2 separate regions of the Homo sapiens genome follow, and region 2 is linked to region 1. The links are contacts of gene promoters, found by promoter capture Hi-C in human tissues and cell types (Jung and others, 2019). All regions are on one chromosome and are shown on one strand. The core of a region is centred on a gene start or on the middle of the fragment in contact, and the rest is flanking DNA. Distances in the headings are between cores, read along the strand shown.

What was found. Contacts are between HindIII fragments. The study calls those that stand out against the background at their distance.
Region 2: a fragment that was not itself captured here is called in contact with the fragment with the promoter of PTPRK in region 1 in 1 of the 25 tissues and cell types used here (dorsolateral prefrontal cortex).

Annotation. Positions count from the first base shown.
Region 1 is chr6:128,517,193-128,524,348 of GRCh38, forward strand. It overlaps PTPRK (protein tyrosine phosphatase receptor type K), which reads right to left and starts at 3,407. Exons shown (of 30, transcript NM_002844.4): 1 at 3,067-3,407. The coding sequence starts at 3,166. RefSeq lists enhancers at 2,581-3,174, 3,175-3,769. The HindIII fragment of the contact is 5,372 bases long and covers 1,705-7,076 here.
Region 2 is chr6:129,239,477-129,246,632 of GRCh38, forward strand. All of the region lies in intron 12 of LAMA2 (laminin subunit alpha 2), which reads left to right. Among named protein-coding and RNA genes, the nearest start is that of LAMA2, 360 kb to the left of the region's middle. RefSeq lists a silencer at 497-706. The HindIII fragment of the contact is 5,674 bases long and covers 688-6,361 here.

The sequences.
Region 1 (7,156 bases), core at 2,157-4,656:
GATGATTACACCCCAGATAGCTGCACAGTGCTTTACAATTTACAGTGCTAGTTCCCATAAATTACTTCATTTAATCATAAAAAACATGTGGAAAGGTCAAGTTGGGTATTATTATCCCCATTTTACAGAGGAGAAAGCTGAGTTTCCAAGTCACCTTACCTGCATCTGGTTTCGTCAGTCATCTAAGTCCTTCTACAGAAAACTTTCTTACATTATATCAAGAGATCACAGCTATACAACCCAGTGAATAAACTTTAATACTTCTTTATTCTTCTATGCCTCGGTTTCCTCAGATATGACATGGGTGTCATTTTAAGTGAGAGGTGAAACTGAAAGAATGTATGAGTTGGGATTTACAGAACGTTCTGGTTTTAAAGAGGCTCACAGTGCAGCAGTTTTACACTTTAACTGCAAAAGCTAAGAAAAAAGTCACAATAATGAAAACACTCTTACATTTTTGGTTTAAACAAAGAAAACTGAATAAGTATATGACACATCAAAGTCCCAACAATGCTCAGCCTTTCAAAATTTGCTTTTGAAGCTTACTACATTAGGAACCACATGATATCGGAAAGTAAACTGATCTTAATGAGTATGATTTGAAAGACATACTTCAGATATTTTTAAATTCTCAACATGAATTTGTCTTGGACTTTTAAAGTGGGTTTATTTAAATTTCTCAAAAGGAATAAAAGTTCACTAGTTAAAGTAAAATATAAGAAAAACCAGCAATATGGAATACACCTCCAATCTTCAATACATCTCTAATCTATGTCTGCAACAAATCTGACTGCCATAGAATTTTATGACAATAAAATATCAAATGATTTATGGTAGCCAGAAAAAAAAGGAAGTATTTACAAAACAAACTTATAATTTGTGGAGAAAGGCAAATCCACAATCTGACTTTAAACTCTGGGAATAAAAGACATTCATTTCTGGGCATACATTCCTAAAGGGCAAAATCTTGAGATGCAATCCTGTGATTACTGTACTTTTTAGGAATGCACATTATATTAATTAAATATACAACATCATGTCAAATGTTATGCTTTGTCACTAAAGAAAAGCCAGGCATATTTAGTTAAAGTACTTAGAACTAGATATCTAAGAACACAATTGTTTATTGTACGTATCTAAACTCCAGGTATCAGAAAAGCTCATTTTCACATTCAGCTGGAGGAAAAGTAGTATTTATTTGTTAATTAAAGGGTAAATAACATTTAAAAAGAGAAAAAGTTTTCTAACTGCTGAAAATATATCCATCGCTGTTGAGACATTAATAGTTGCAACTCTTGAATACATGTAAGTTTAATTATGCAACTGGTAGAGTTCAAACTTTCAATTAACAAACTACAAGCCTTTTCAAGCGTAGGCTCTCCGTGCAGTGACAAACACTGTGCAGAAATCAATACTCACTCCAACTTGCCTGCATATAATGAGTTACATCAAGCACGGTTTCAATGCTAACGGGCATTATATGTCAGAAATGCATGCAGTAATGCTTACTCCAGAAAGAATTCAATTAAACCATTGGATTATTTTTTGCATAGAGCTGTTACCCTCTGCGTACATCAATTATATACAGGGCTTTTCCTCTGCGTGCTGCCATTTCATAATCTCTGCCTGAATGTACGACACATGCTGCCACCTGAATCTGTTGTTTAACTCCCTTTACAGAGTTCTAAATGGGGCGGGGGTAGGAGAGCAATGGAAGGGAAATAAACGATTACTCCAGAAAACAACAATTTGAGTTTATTTCCAGGAAACAGGGCCTCCACAACAACGTGAGAAACTGTCAGGTACAAAGTAAGTTATTTGCGTCCTGCGGCTTCAGCCAGGAGCGTGGCTGTCGCTTTTCCCGTCTTCTCCATCACCCTCTGGCCACCACTGCGTCTCCATCTGCACCGCGAACCCCAGCAGCAGATGCGCTCGCCAGCCAAGCGAAGCTGGGTAGGTTGGCCAGAAAAGTTGTCAGGACTGGCGGGAGGTAGACAAGTGCTCGGGAGCCCGCTCCCCAGCGTCCACCTGGTGAAACTTCAGAGCCCCCAGAGGAGAGAACGAAAGAAGCAACCAACCTACACGAAGGATAACAAAACTGGAGGGGAACAGAGGGCGGGACCGGGAGAGCCAGGGTTCACGGACTTCTCTGAGCGGCTTGACCGAGAACCCCCAGGGCTACAGCGAGACGCTCCACTTGTCTCCTTTTGGGTTCTCCGGCAGAAGGCAGACATTTACAGTCCGCTTCCAGCCCCAGGCCGGATCCGGGGAGCGCGGGGCCAGAGCCCCAGGCCGGATCCGGGGAGCGCGGGGCCAGCCTGGCGGTGGTTTTGCCCGAGGAGCGGGCTCCCACGCGCGAGTCAGGCTTCCTCCACCAGGCGCCCAGACCTCGATGCCCATGAACGCTCAGAGTGGGTCCTTAGAACCGCATTTCAACACATCTTACAGGGCTCCGCCAACACACACACAGAACATGCTCCAAGCAGTGCCCGAGCGCACAGGGCAAGCCCGGGAGCAACCCAGAGCTGGGGGAGGAGAAAAGGGGACTCCGGGAGGGACGGGGAAGTAGTTAGACAATAGTCAGGGGAGGTTATTCCCGGGACAAAAAGCACCTGGCAAAGCGCGCCGAGGTCAGTCCCTTCGAATCTCCACATTTCTGACAATGGCTTCCCAGGGAATTTGTTTAAACACCCAAGTGGCAGACAGCAACAAACCCGCACCACAAGCAACAGAGTGCCGTCACGGGAGTCGTAACTACTTTTTCTTTCTCTCTTCCCCACTAGCCCGGCGCAGGCCACGCGAGACGCCGAAGCCAGCAGGTCCCCACACTCTCCGGCTAGACCGTGCCAGCCTGAGCCCCGAGCAAGCTTCGGAGAGGAACAATGGGTGCCCCGCGTCCCACCTGGCACGAACTCTGGGGACAGCCCTCCCTCTACCCTGTGTTCCCCACCCCCGGACAGAGAGAGCTCCCCACGATCCTTGTCCCCAGCCCTAGCGGGGACCTGGCTCACCCCTCGTGAGCCCAGGACTCCAGGCGTTCGTCGGGGACGCCCCCCGGCCACTCACCTGCGGAGAACTGGCCTTGGGCCGATCCCAGGAGAGGCCAAGGAGAGAGGAGCAAGAGCGCCACAAAAGCAGGCAGCGCCGCCGCCGCAGTCGTATCCATGCCGAGTTTGGGAGAAGTTTCAAGCAGCTTTGCAAAGAGCTGCCGGGGGGATCGCCGCGAAATCCACGACGGAGGAGCGGGCCGGGCCTCGCGGGGTGAGGACGGTGAGAGGACAGCCGCCCGCCCGCCCTTTTTCCTTCTTCGCGGTCGCCAAACTACCTCAGGGGCGAAAGCGTCGCCAGCGTCGCCGGCCGGCCGCGGCGGCAGCTCTCCATGCTCGGCGGAGGCTGCTCCTGTTAGTCAAGAGTTACTTTGCTCGGGGAGGGACGGGGGCGGAGCCGGGGGTGACGTCGCCCCGCGGGCTCCGGGCGCTTCTGAGGAATGCGGGCTCGGGCGCGGCGCCGCCACCGCCTCCTGCCGGAGAGACGCGCGCCAGCCCCGGCCGCGCGCCCCGCGCCGCCTTTGTTCGCAGCCTGGGCCCCGCCGCCAGCCGCTGCTCGGAGGGAGCGAGCGAGAAAGGGGAGCCGGCGCAGCTCGCTGCCCTGTTCCAGAACTCAGAATTTGAGAGGCGAGAGTTCGGTAAGCCGTGCGACCAGACGACCGAGGACGCGCGCAGAGAAACCCCCGCCGTCCGAGGAGAGGCGTCCTGGGGTTCCGTCCCAAGGTGGAGGTCCCCCCGAGCGGTTGCTGATTGAAAGGGGAGTGTGGAAGCGCCCTGAGGAAACACCCGCCTGCCTTGAAAACTCCCCGTTCCTTATTCTTGTAATAAGGAATAAGACACCCCACCCCCATCGAAAACTTGTCCCTTATTCATAGAATAAATAAAACTTGAACCAGAATAAACGATCAGTAACTTTCCAGCGTGAACAGCTGGCGTGTCTCCTTTCTGGTTTATTTGTCATTGGCCAAGTATTTGGATTTACTCTGCTTCACTGACTTTGCTTGTTGCTCTGAAACCCTCCGGCCCCTTTCCAGTTCTCACCTAAGAACTGCATCAGGGCTTATTATCCCTTCCTTGCACCTAGGTCTGGTGTGTGTGTGGTTTTGTTTTTTTTAATATCTAGTAGGTAGTTAAGACATAAGTATTTAACAAAAGGACTTTTACACTGACCATGAAAACAGCTTCTTCGGAATGATTCATCTGGCAGAAAATAATGCTATATTATGACAGTAAAATATTTCACAGTTAACTACTTCAGCAGCTTGAAGTGGTTTCGCCATATGCCACCCTGCCTTACTTCTGTGGTAAGACTGTATGGTGCATACTTTATTCATTTTTGTAAAATGTCACAAAAAATAGGTATGGTCACAATTGAATAACATAATAACTTTGATTCAGAATTTTTATGTGTTATGTACAATTGCTAAAACAATAGTCTGTTGATTGACATCTCTCAGTTTCTCAGACATCTTAGCCTTTGTAAATCAAGACAATGTGAAATTCATTTTAATATAACATTCACATAATTTACCAAGCCACATATTCTTTTAATCAAATATATGCTATTAATGACCAGACTTATGACAGAGCCTGTGGAAACAAAAATGTAATAAATATACACACAAATATATACATATATAAATACATATTATACACACATACATATCAGGCAGAAAAGACTTTTAAAAATTCTATGAGAATAGTAGCCTGCTCATTAGCACACTGACTAGCTCAACCCTTGTCAATTCAGTTCAGCATAGTTAAGTTCATCCTTCCTTAGGGTGCAATGTAGATTTTTTTTTTTTAACTCATTAACCTATACCTTTCAACACACCATCACCATTCCATTTCTTTAATTAGAGAACATTCCTAGATCCCAGGTAACAAAAAACTGAGGGACATATTTTTCTTTTTGAGGACAGCAGAACTTCCTAAAATTTAGCAGCAATTTTTCCCAGTAAAAACAAACAAAACCCTACTGTCTGTATACTAATTCATCTGTTCTACTCTTGTAAGAAATGTAAAAGAAGTTCATGACGTGGTAATTTGTTTGTTTAAACACACAAACAAAAAACTTCTTTAAATATTTTCACACAGTGCCAGGACAAAGTGCACACAATTCTTACCTTGCCCATTTTGGGGGACAGCTGATAGAAGATTCATTTCATGAAACTTTATTAATTTCTCTATCATGGAAGTAATAATAATAGCAGGTAATGTTTAGAAAGTTCTTCAAATGTTCTAGGCACTGTCTTAGAGTATACAATGTCACACTGAGACATCAAGATTTTCAGTGTTTCATTGAGTTCAGTCAACAATTCCGTGAAGACTTTGGTACAATTATTCCCATTTGACAAATAAGAAAACAAGGTTATAGATTAAGTAACTTACCCAAAGACACATACTTAAGTGAGAAGTGGGGGAGGCGATGCAAAGAGAAGAAAGGAAATTCTCAAAAGAAATCAGCAAACCAACACAGATGGTTTCTCACTAAAAATCAAAAGCATGCAATAAAACTTTTAGGTAAGTACATTATTCCTTTTGTGCATAACTAATGCGACCAGTATGGATTGAAATCACTTGAGTAGAAATCTGGTGGGTCTTCTACATAGCTAAGTGCGTGGCAAATATTAGGAATTAGTAGATTTTTGTTTGTTTGAAAGAATAAATGAATACATGAATCAATAGAAGTATAAATTTGGTTAAACTTTTAGGAAAAGAAATCATCAGCCTGCATTAAAAATCACTAAAATCTTCCTATTCTTTAGTCTAGAAGCTATTGCAAGTAAATAATCCAAAATATGAAAAATGTTATTTAATATGTTTATCATTTCAAAAGAGAAAGAATATAAATATTCTACAATAGGCAGATTCATAAGCATTATATGGTAGAATATCTCATAGCCACTAGAAATGAAAGTTATGAAAAAAGTAAATTGCAAGATGGAAAAATGCTTATGATCAAATGTTGGGTAAAATCATCAGAAGACAATACAGAGTTTCAGTTTAGAAAGATAAAACTGTTCTGGAGAGGGATGGTGGTAATAGTTGCCTAACAACATGAATGGACTCAATGCCACCAAATTACATACTCAATAATTGTTAAAATGATAAAGTTTATGCTATGTATATTTTACAACAATAAACAAAAACAGAAGACAAAGGTCTTTGTACTATAACCAAGAAAAAAAGAAGGCTGAAAAAAATTACAAAACATAGTATTAATATAGTTAGCAATAGATGTAGTATACTAAAATTTTATGGGAGCTCTTCTCTATTTTCCTATTGTTTTGGCCTATGGTTACATTATTTCTTTTAAAAGAGGACAGCTTTGTGTTCTGATTGCAGATCTACCACACACTAACTCCAATCATAATCTTAGATCTGCATTTGGCAAGTGTTTTCTGTAGAATCCCAGTTCTATCAGATTTAAATAAGTATAATTCAAAAATACAGCCTCAAGATTAAATTAGCTCGGAGAACTCTGGACTGAGCAAAGTTTAACAGATTTCTTCAATATAGCAAGCTTCTTTATTATAGAATCTTTCCCATGGTTTCCGATATGGTATCATGTGCTATAAGTCTATTGGAGAAGGAAAAAGAATTCATTGTTTCTCAAAGTTTTGGACCATAGAACGCTTTAATAGAGGAGTAGGTCTCAGGACCAGGGTTCCAGGGAACAGAATTTGGGAACATTGCATTAAACAACATTTAATACCACCGTATCTTAATTTCCTTTTTGTGAAAATGAAGTAATAATATTTTTATAGGATTAAATTATATATCTATCTATCTATATATATATATCTATCTATATATATAGATAGATAGATATATATATATATATACATTTTCTTTTCTTGTAGAGCTGCAGATTTGCTTGTAAGTATAGACATGAGGCCAGGCACGGTGGCTCACGCCTGTAATCCCAGCACTTTGGGAGGCTGAGGCGGGCGGATCACGAGGTCAGGAGATCAAAACCATCCTGACCAACATGGTGAAACCCTGTCTCTACTAAAAATACAAAAATTAACTGGGCATGGTGGCATGTACCTGTTGTCCCAGCTACTCGGGAGGCTGAGGCAGGAGAATCACTTGAACCCAGGAGG
Region 2 (7,156 bases), core at 2,275-4,774, 720 kb after region 1:
ACTCTAATATTTAAATAACCCACTGTTAATAAACTGGCATGGTGCAATTGCATGTTTCCCAGTGAGATCAGATCTAGTCCAATGTCTCAGCAGATATAGGAATTCCTTTTCTATCACCCCAGACAGGTGGATCTCTACTCATGTATCTTCAGAGAAATGGATACCCTACAAAGCAGCACATTCCATTTTCAACAGCTCTAGATATTATTTTATTTATTTATTTTAGATGAAGTTCTGCTGTGTTGTCCAAGCTGGTCTCAAACCCCTGGGCTCAAGCAATCCTCCTGCCTCAGCCTCCCAAGTAGCTGGAATTATAGTTGTGTGCCACTGCATCTAGCTCCAGATTTTAGAAGTTAATTCTTACACAGGGTTTTCTGGAGGGACAGAACTAATAGGATTGATGTATATATGAAGGGGAGTTTGTTAGGAGAATTGGCTCACATGATCACAAGGTGAAGTCCCACAATAGGCCATCTGCAAGCTGAGTAGCAAGAAAGCCAGTTCGATTCCCAGAACCTCAAAATTAGGGAAGCCAGCGGTGCAGCCTTCAGTCTGTGGCCGAAGGCCCGAGAGCCCGTGGCAAATTACTGGTGTAAGTGCAAGGGTCCAAAAGCTGAAAAACTTGGAATCTGATGTTCAAGGGCAGGAAGCATCCGGCATAGGAGAAAGATGAAGACTAGAAGACTGCGCAATTCTAGACCTTCCACGTTCTCCTGCCTGCTTTATCCTAGCCACGCTGGCAGCTGATTAAATGGTGCCTACCCAGAATGAGGGTGGTTCTGTCTTTCCCAGCCCTCTGACTCAAATGTTAATCTCCTTTGGCAACACCCTCACAGACACACTCAGGTACAATACTTTGCATACTTCAGTCAAGTAGACAGTCAATATTAATCACCACATTCTCCAACGCTTTCTCATACAGGTTCTATTTCTCCACTATGAACAGTGAGATTTTTTTTCTGGTATACTTGATAGGCCTTCAAATGTTCCAAGAAAACAATCATGCTTTTCCTAAGTCTTCTCTTTTTAAATACTCCCATTACCTTTCCAAACCTTTTGTTCAGCTGTTGGGACCATCAACATCCTGGTCACACCTCTATGGATGAAGTCTAATTTGTCAACTACTCTCTTAAATGGTGGTGTCATGAATTGATCACAGTGCTCTGGATGTGCTCTGACTAGCTATGACTGCTCCTGGATCGCCGTTTCCTTTAATCTATACACTATGTGTCTTCCTAATACAGAGAGTATGTTGTTTGCCTATATATCATAACAAATTGAAAATGCATTTATAACTTATAAAGTATATATTACTAGGTGCTAGAATTTACACTATTATCCTAATATACAGAAGCTGGGAAAAGTAATGCCATAGAGTTGATTTATGTGTGTAAATGTCTAAGTGACTTAAATATTGATTTTTCTCCTTCAACTGCAGATCAAACTTCCCAAACACTAAAGCTTCCTTATTTTAAAACAAATGCATTTGTGGTTCACCAGTCTGCAGTACAGTAAGCTTTTTATAGGTAAGCTCAAATCACAGAAAAGCTCAAATAGATACATCTCCTTTAGCCTATTTTTAGGACTGATAAAGCTAAGAACAGAGAAACCAATAAAGACATATTTTAATGATGGCAGGGTATCTCATGGGGTAGTACAAATTTATCCCAGTTTTTTATGCCTTCTCTATGTGTAATACATTGAAGTGATATATGGTGTTGAATGTGATTAAAATTCAGCAGATACTTATGCAAGATCTACTATCTATAAGATGCTTATGCAAAATTCCATAGGGAAACATTAAGACGTGAATAAAATCTGAATTGGGCCATCACTATGATCTCTCCCCAAAACGTGGGATTTTCAAGTGCATTTAGAATTATGAAATAAACCACTAGGTTTTTAGTGTGAAATGTTTACAGTATTTTAATTTTGAAAACTATACTTATTAAAACAGTATGACAACATTTATTGAATACATGTTATGTGCTAGGTACCAAGTGGGGAGTTTTATGTTTATTTTCTCATTTCATCCTAAGAGCAAACTTCGGAGGTAGGTGTGATTCGTCTCATTTTAGTGAAAATTCACTGATGCTCTGAAAGCAAAATTAACTTTCCCAAGGGCCTTGTAGTGCTTAAAGGCAGAATCAAAATCCACAACCAGCTCTGGAAAATCTCCAGAAATGAGCTTAATTTTTTGTGTGATTTATATATGACTCCAATATTAACAGACATGTCAAACAACTAACACAACCCTTTACCTGTTTATTTTGGAAGAAGACACTTAAAATGTATTTTATTACCCTGTTGATTCTCCTCTGGAGTGTGACTTAGTATCCATTGCACCTTTGGGATTCTTATCTTCTAAAATTCACAACCACTTTCTACTGCTGTAAGAAAGAATCACCTGCAGAGTTCACGAATGAGGGAAGAGTGAAAAGGGAATAGTGGCAGATCAATACCACTTGGCATCACATCAAAATAGTATTCCAAGGTTGGTGTTCTGGCTTCTGCTTTTCTGGGAAATACGTTGTCTGCTATTTCAAAATGCCCTCCATCTGAATAATGTAACCTGAAATTCATTCAACTCATATTTAGCACTTTAGGCCATATCCAGGGTTGTGGAAGGTGTACGTAAGCAATGAGGATTGCCTACAAGGCAAGATGAGAACTCTGTTTTCTATACTTTCTATTGTTCCTCCCTTTGCAACAGAAGTAGAAAGGGCCATACCATAGCCATCTACTGTCCAACATGATGAATATCCTTAAAGACAAAATCTTTAAGCAGTAAGTGAAAGGTTAACTACAATTCTCATTTAAAAAGAAAATTGCATTGCTGATATCTCTTTGTTACATAAATTTTCCACAAGGATTATACATTTTCTTTTTATTCATTTGTTATCTATTTGACAATAGCAAGCCTGTTTCTCTTTAGCTTAAAGGAACTTGGATTAAAATTTTTTCTGTTATTTTAATCAGCATTGATGTTGTATATTATGAGCGTGTGGCTTTTTGTTTTCTTGGCAGAGACCTTGAAAAAATTTTGAACCCTAGTCAATAAGAAATCTCTGTATTAATATAAAACTATAACTTATGGTTTATTTGATTAGATCAATGTTTAATTATGGATAACATGTATTTTTTGCACTGAATATTTACACACAAATTAATCTAGCCCATAGTAAAAGTGCTAATGGAATGTTTCATCCAAACATAAGTTAGTAAATGGAAAACAAACAGCTGTTGCAAAGACCCTGTTTTTGGGTCTGGGCCTAACAGCACGAAGCACTTCAGAGAATTTCACCACTACCATTTACTCACATCTGTTGAGATTGTACTATTTCAACTCAAGATTTGATCAGTGTATGTCATAAAGTAACAAGTAGTACGCTAAGTCAGAAAACTTAAAGGAAACATTAAATACTCATTTCCTATATGGAATGTTGCCTTTCTAAGCACATCATCTTCTTCTATGTGATGTTTTGCAAATCTATTCATAGGAGATTTATATTTTCAAGTGTGCTCAAATGGATCTGTGTTGGGGAAAGATACGTGAAATAAGAAAATAAAAGCTAATCCATTTGTTTTAAAATTTTGTCTGCCTACCACATTTTGTTGGACTTCTTGTTATATGAGAACTCCTAATTGTCTGGTTTTCAATTGCAGCCAAAAGCATTCTTACCTGATCAAACTCTTCAAATTCTATTTACTTTGAATTATAGCTGAGTACATGGAAAGTATAATTGGGCCTTACTTTGTTACACAGCAGACAAAACATATGCTCAAGATAGGTCAGTGCTATTCCAGTGAATAAACATTTTAACAAAAATTTGTATGAGAAATTCATGTTGGCCTCTCATTCCTCTCTATATGCCTTTCACAGTTACTCTTTTTCCCCTTGCCAATCAAAACACTATAATGAATATCTCTTGGCCTTAACGATAAGAAACACTGTATATAAATATTGTCTAGGCTGTATTTTATGAGAATGTGGAGTTATATGAAATGTAGGAAGAAAAAATATGAGTGAGTAATCCTGTGAGCAGTGGACGGGCTGAGCTTCTAGGACACTGATAAGCAATCAGTGTTAGTTACACTTGAGGCAGTATCTCTGGTGGTCTGTTCCAGAACTATGTCCTTGACTCTGTCACATTCATACTTTTCATCACTACTTTTTATACTTCTGCAATTTAGGTCACCCAATACAGGTTATCTTATCAGGTTAAACTGATTGTAGTGGTCACATTGAAAAAGAAAAAAAAAATCCCAAATTCAGGACTTTTCCCAACCAGTTCTAATTAATGCACGTGTGAAAGGACATAGTTATTGTGAAAAGAAATGCTATCAAAACAGTCTAATGGCTACAAGAAGAAAAAGAAAAGAAGAAGAAGAAGGAGGAGGAAGAGGAGAAGGAGATGAAGAAGAAAGCTAAGGAGAAGATGGGTAACAGGAAAAAAAGAGGGCAGGAAAAGCAGATAGGAAGGAAAAAAAAGGTGGAAGAGAGAAATGAATGCAGGCAGGCAGGATGTTTTCCTCGAGGTTTTTTATTTATATCCCCTGGACTGCATAACTCAGTTTATTCCCTTCTAAACCAACTTTTCTAGAATGTGTTGTCTCTGTTCGACACCTACAACTCTGGTTCATTTTCTATGCATTAAGGATGATGTAACTTTAAAACCTCTCATGTAAATTCTGCCTGTTTTCTAATTCTACAATCCTCTTGTTTATGTTCTATTCTAATAATTATCGAGCTTTTAAAGAAGAGAAATCTGTTCTTAACTCAAATTTATACATACACTGAAGGAAATAACAAAACCTTGAAGTAAAACACTGTTTCTATGATAAAAGAGAGCTCTACAAATAGATGCATGAATAAACACTTCTATGGGAGGGATACCTTTTCAGAGTTTAAGGCTCGCGGGCTTTGGGATCTAAGAAGATGAATCGCTTGCCCTGTTTGTGATCCTAAATGGAAATTGACAGATATGTTTAATTTATCCTGCTCAGTATTATAAAGCCTTTTTCTCATTTGATTTTTGTGTATCCCTCCTGAAATATTTGCTCTGGTAAGCAAAAGCAAATATTAGGTTTTACACTCCATTTAGTGAAATAACAGTGATGATAATCTGACATCAGAGAACCAAATGTTCCAGGCTTATTTCATGAAAAGGATTTCCTCTCCAGAAACATTATCCTCAATAGGTTATCCCATCCTTCATTCCTCAATTCATATTTCTTGAGATTGAGAGGGAAAAAAAAAGAGGCCAGACCACAAGTAGCCTACTGCTAAATTCTTTTATGAAGCTTAGTTTTATGAATTACCTTTTAGCCTTCTCCAGTCATGTGGGAAAACTTTCCTGCCTCATTAAATCTTTAATGCAATGTGCACCATGCACACTGTATTGTTATTTGTGACATTAGGTTATATATTGCATAGTAACTATAATATTACTTGCAAACAAGCTGGTTTTTCCCCCTGAAGGTAGAATTAAAACAGGTACTCATGGGAAACAGCTACTTGTGTTCTTCTTTTCTTAATGGGGTGAAGCTGAAGAACAGGAAAGTGAATGGCTTAGCCTAGAACCATCTCCAGGAATGGAGGTAAATTTTTTCCTGCAGTGCCTTCTCAATTTGATATCTGAATCTCCCTGAAGAGAATTTGCCTTAGTAGATATGGAGAAAGAGGGAAAAGGCCAAGCCTTTGGAGACCCTTATGAAATGGAATGAACCGCTCTCACTAAATTCACTTTCTCTTTGTATTGAAAAGAGATATAATTTTCATCCCTAGTAAATATAGTCGAATCCATCCAGTAATATAAGAATTGCCTCAAAGTGAACTAAAATTGCACTTACTCCTACCTGTGGAAAACCATATTTCTCTAGCCAAGAGAACAATGACAGATTAGTTCCTAAATAGCAGGAGAAAATGAAATGTTCTATTGGCTGAACACACAGTGCTCTGTAAAATCAGAGAAATCAATATTGTCCCCAAAATGAACTAATTTGAAAGTCTCAAAGATGTTCAATTTTATGAAAGACTCGTAAAATTAATAAATGAGTCTGCAAAGTCCAAAAATGTGGAAAATTACAGTTATTTGCAGTACGTATAACTTACCAAGACCACTTATATTTTGTTAGAATTTTTCAATGAATGTTAATGGATGAATTTTTTTATATAGAGTTCTCCCTGTTTGGAATCTTTTAGTTCCCTTATTTACTGTGGTTGCCACTGACTCTGCATCAGGCTTTGGAAATATCACTAAAAAACTGTTTTTTCTTTAGTCTTCTTACTAGTCAAATATCAGCTAAACAAACAAAGAAAATAAGTGTTTGAATGGTCAGAGAACTATAAGAATGAGAATTCTGGCAGGAAAATTCATTTTTAAAAATCCAAGTAACAGAATGGATAAATATAAAAAGAGGCTAGATCAGACATACCCAGACATTCTCAGTTCAGAATGTTCATAGCGTATTCATAATTTTTTCATAGTGCCTCCTTGACCAACAGAAATAAGCCACAGTTCTATTTCTTAAGTAGTTAGTGCCAAACAACTTAATAAATATTCATGTTTTAACAACCTAGCAATTGTTTAAAAAGAAAATGGACAGAAAATAATAATTTTTTTCATAAATAACCAGAATCACTTACTGATGGGATGTGGTACCTTTGGGGTAGTATATACCTTCTCAAACTTGAGTATCAGATTGGATAATGCTATCCTTATTTCCTTTTCCACATTGACTTTTGTGCAGTTCTTGCTTTTAATTACAGTCTCTTCTGAAAACCTTTCTTAATAAAGATATAAAGTGGCCTAAAGTACAAGTAAGCAGAAACATGGCTCAAAATGTTGAGAACATTCTTAAGTGGAATATAGCATGTTCTAAGGTTTCAACTTGTGAACCACCTTGAATTAGTTATTGCAGTGCCCAACAGATATTTAGTATTGCTGTGTGTCCTTCAAATGTTTACAATATTCCACTGTGCCTTTGTGAGTTCACTGCAGCACCCTGGGGCACCTCTACACACAGTTTGTGAACACAGGGGTAGATAGATCCTAGAGGCATTGAAACTACACGGAAACTTGAATGACGTTAGGGATCCCAGAGCCACTGGGGAATCTTCATTAGGGAAGTGCAACAACATATGAAATAGCTC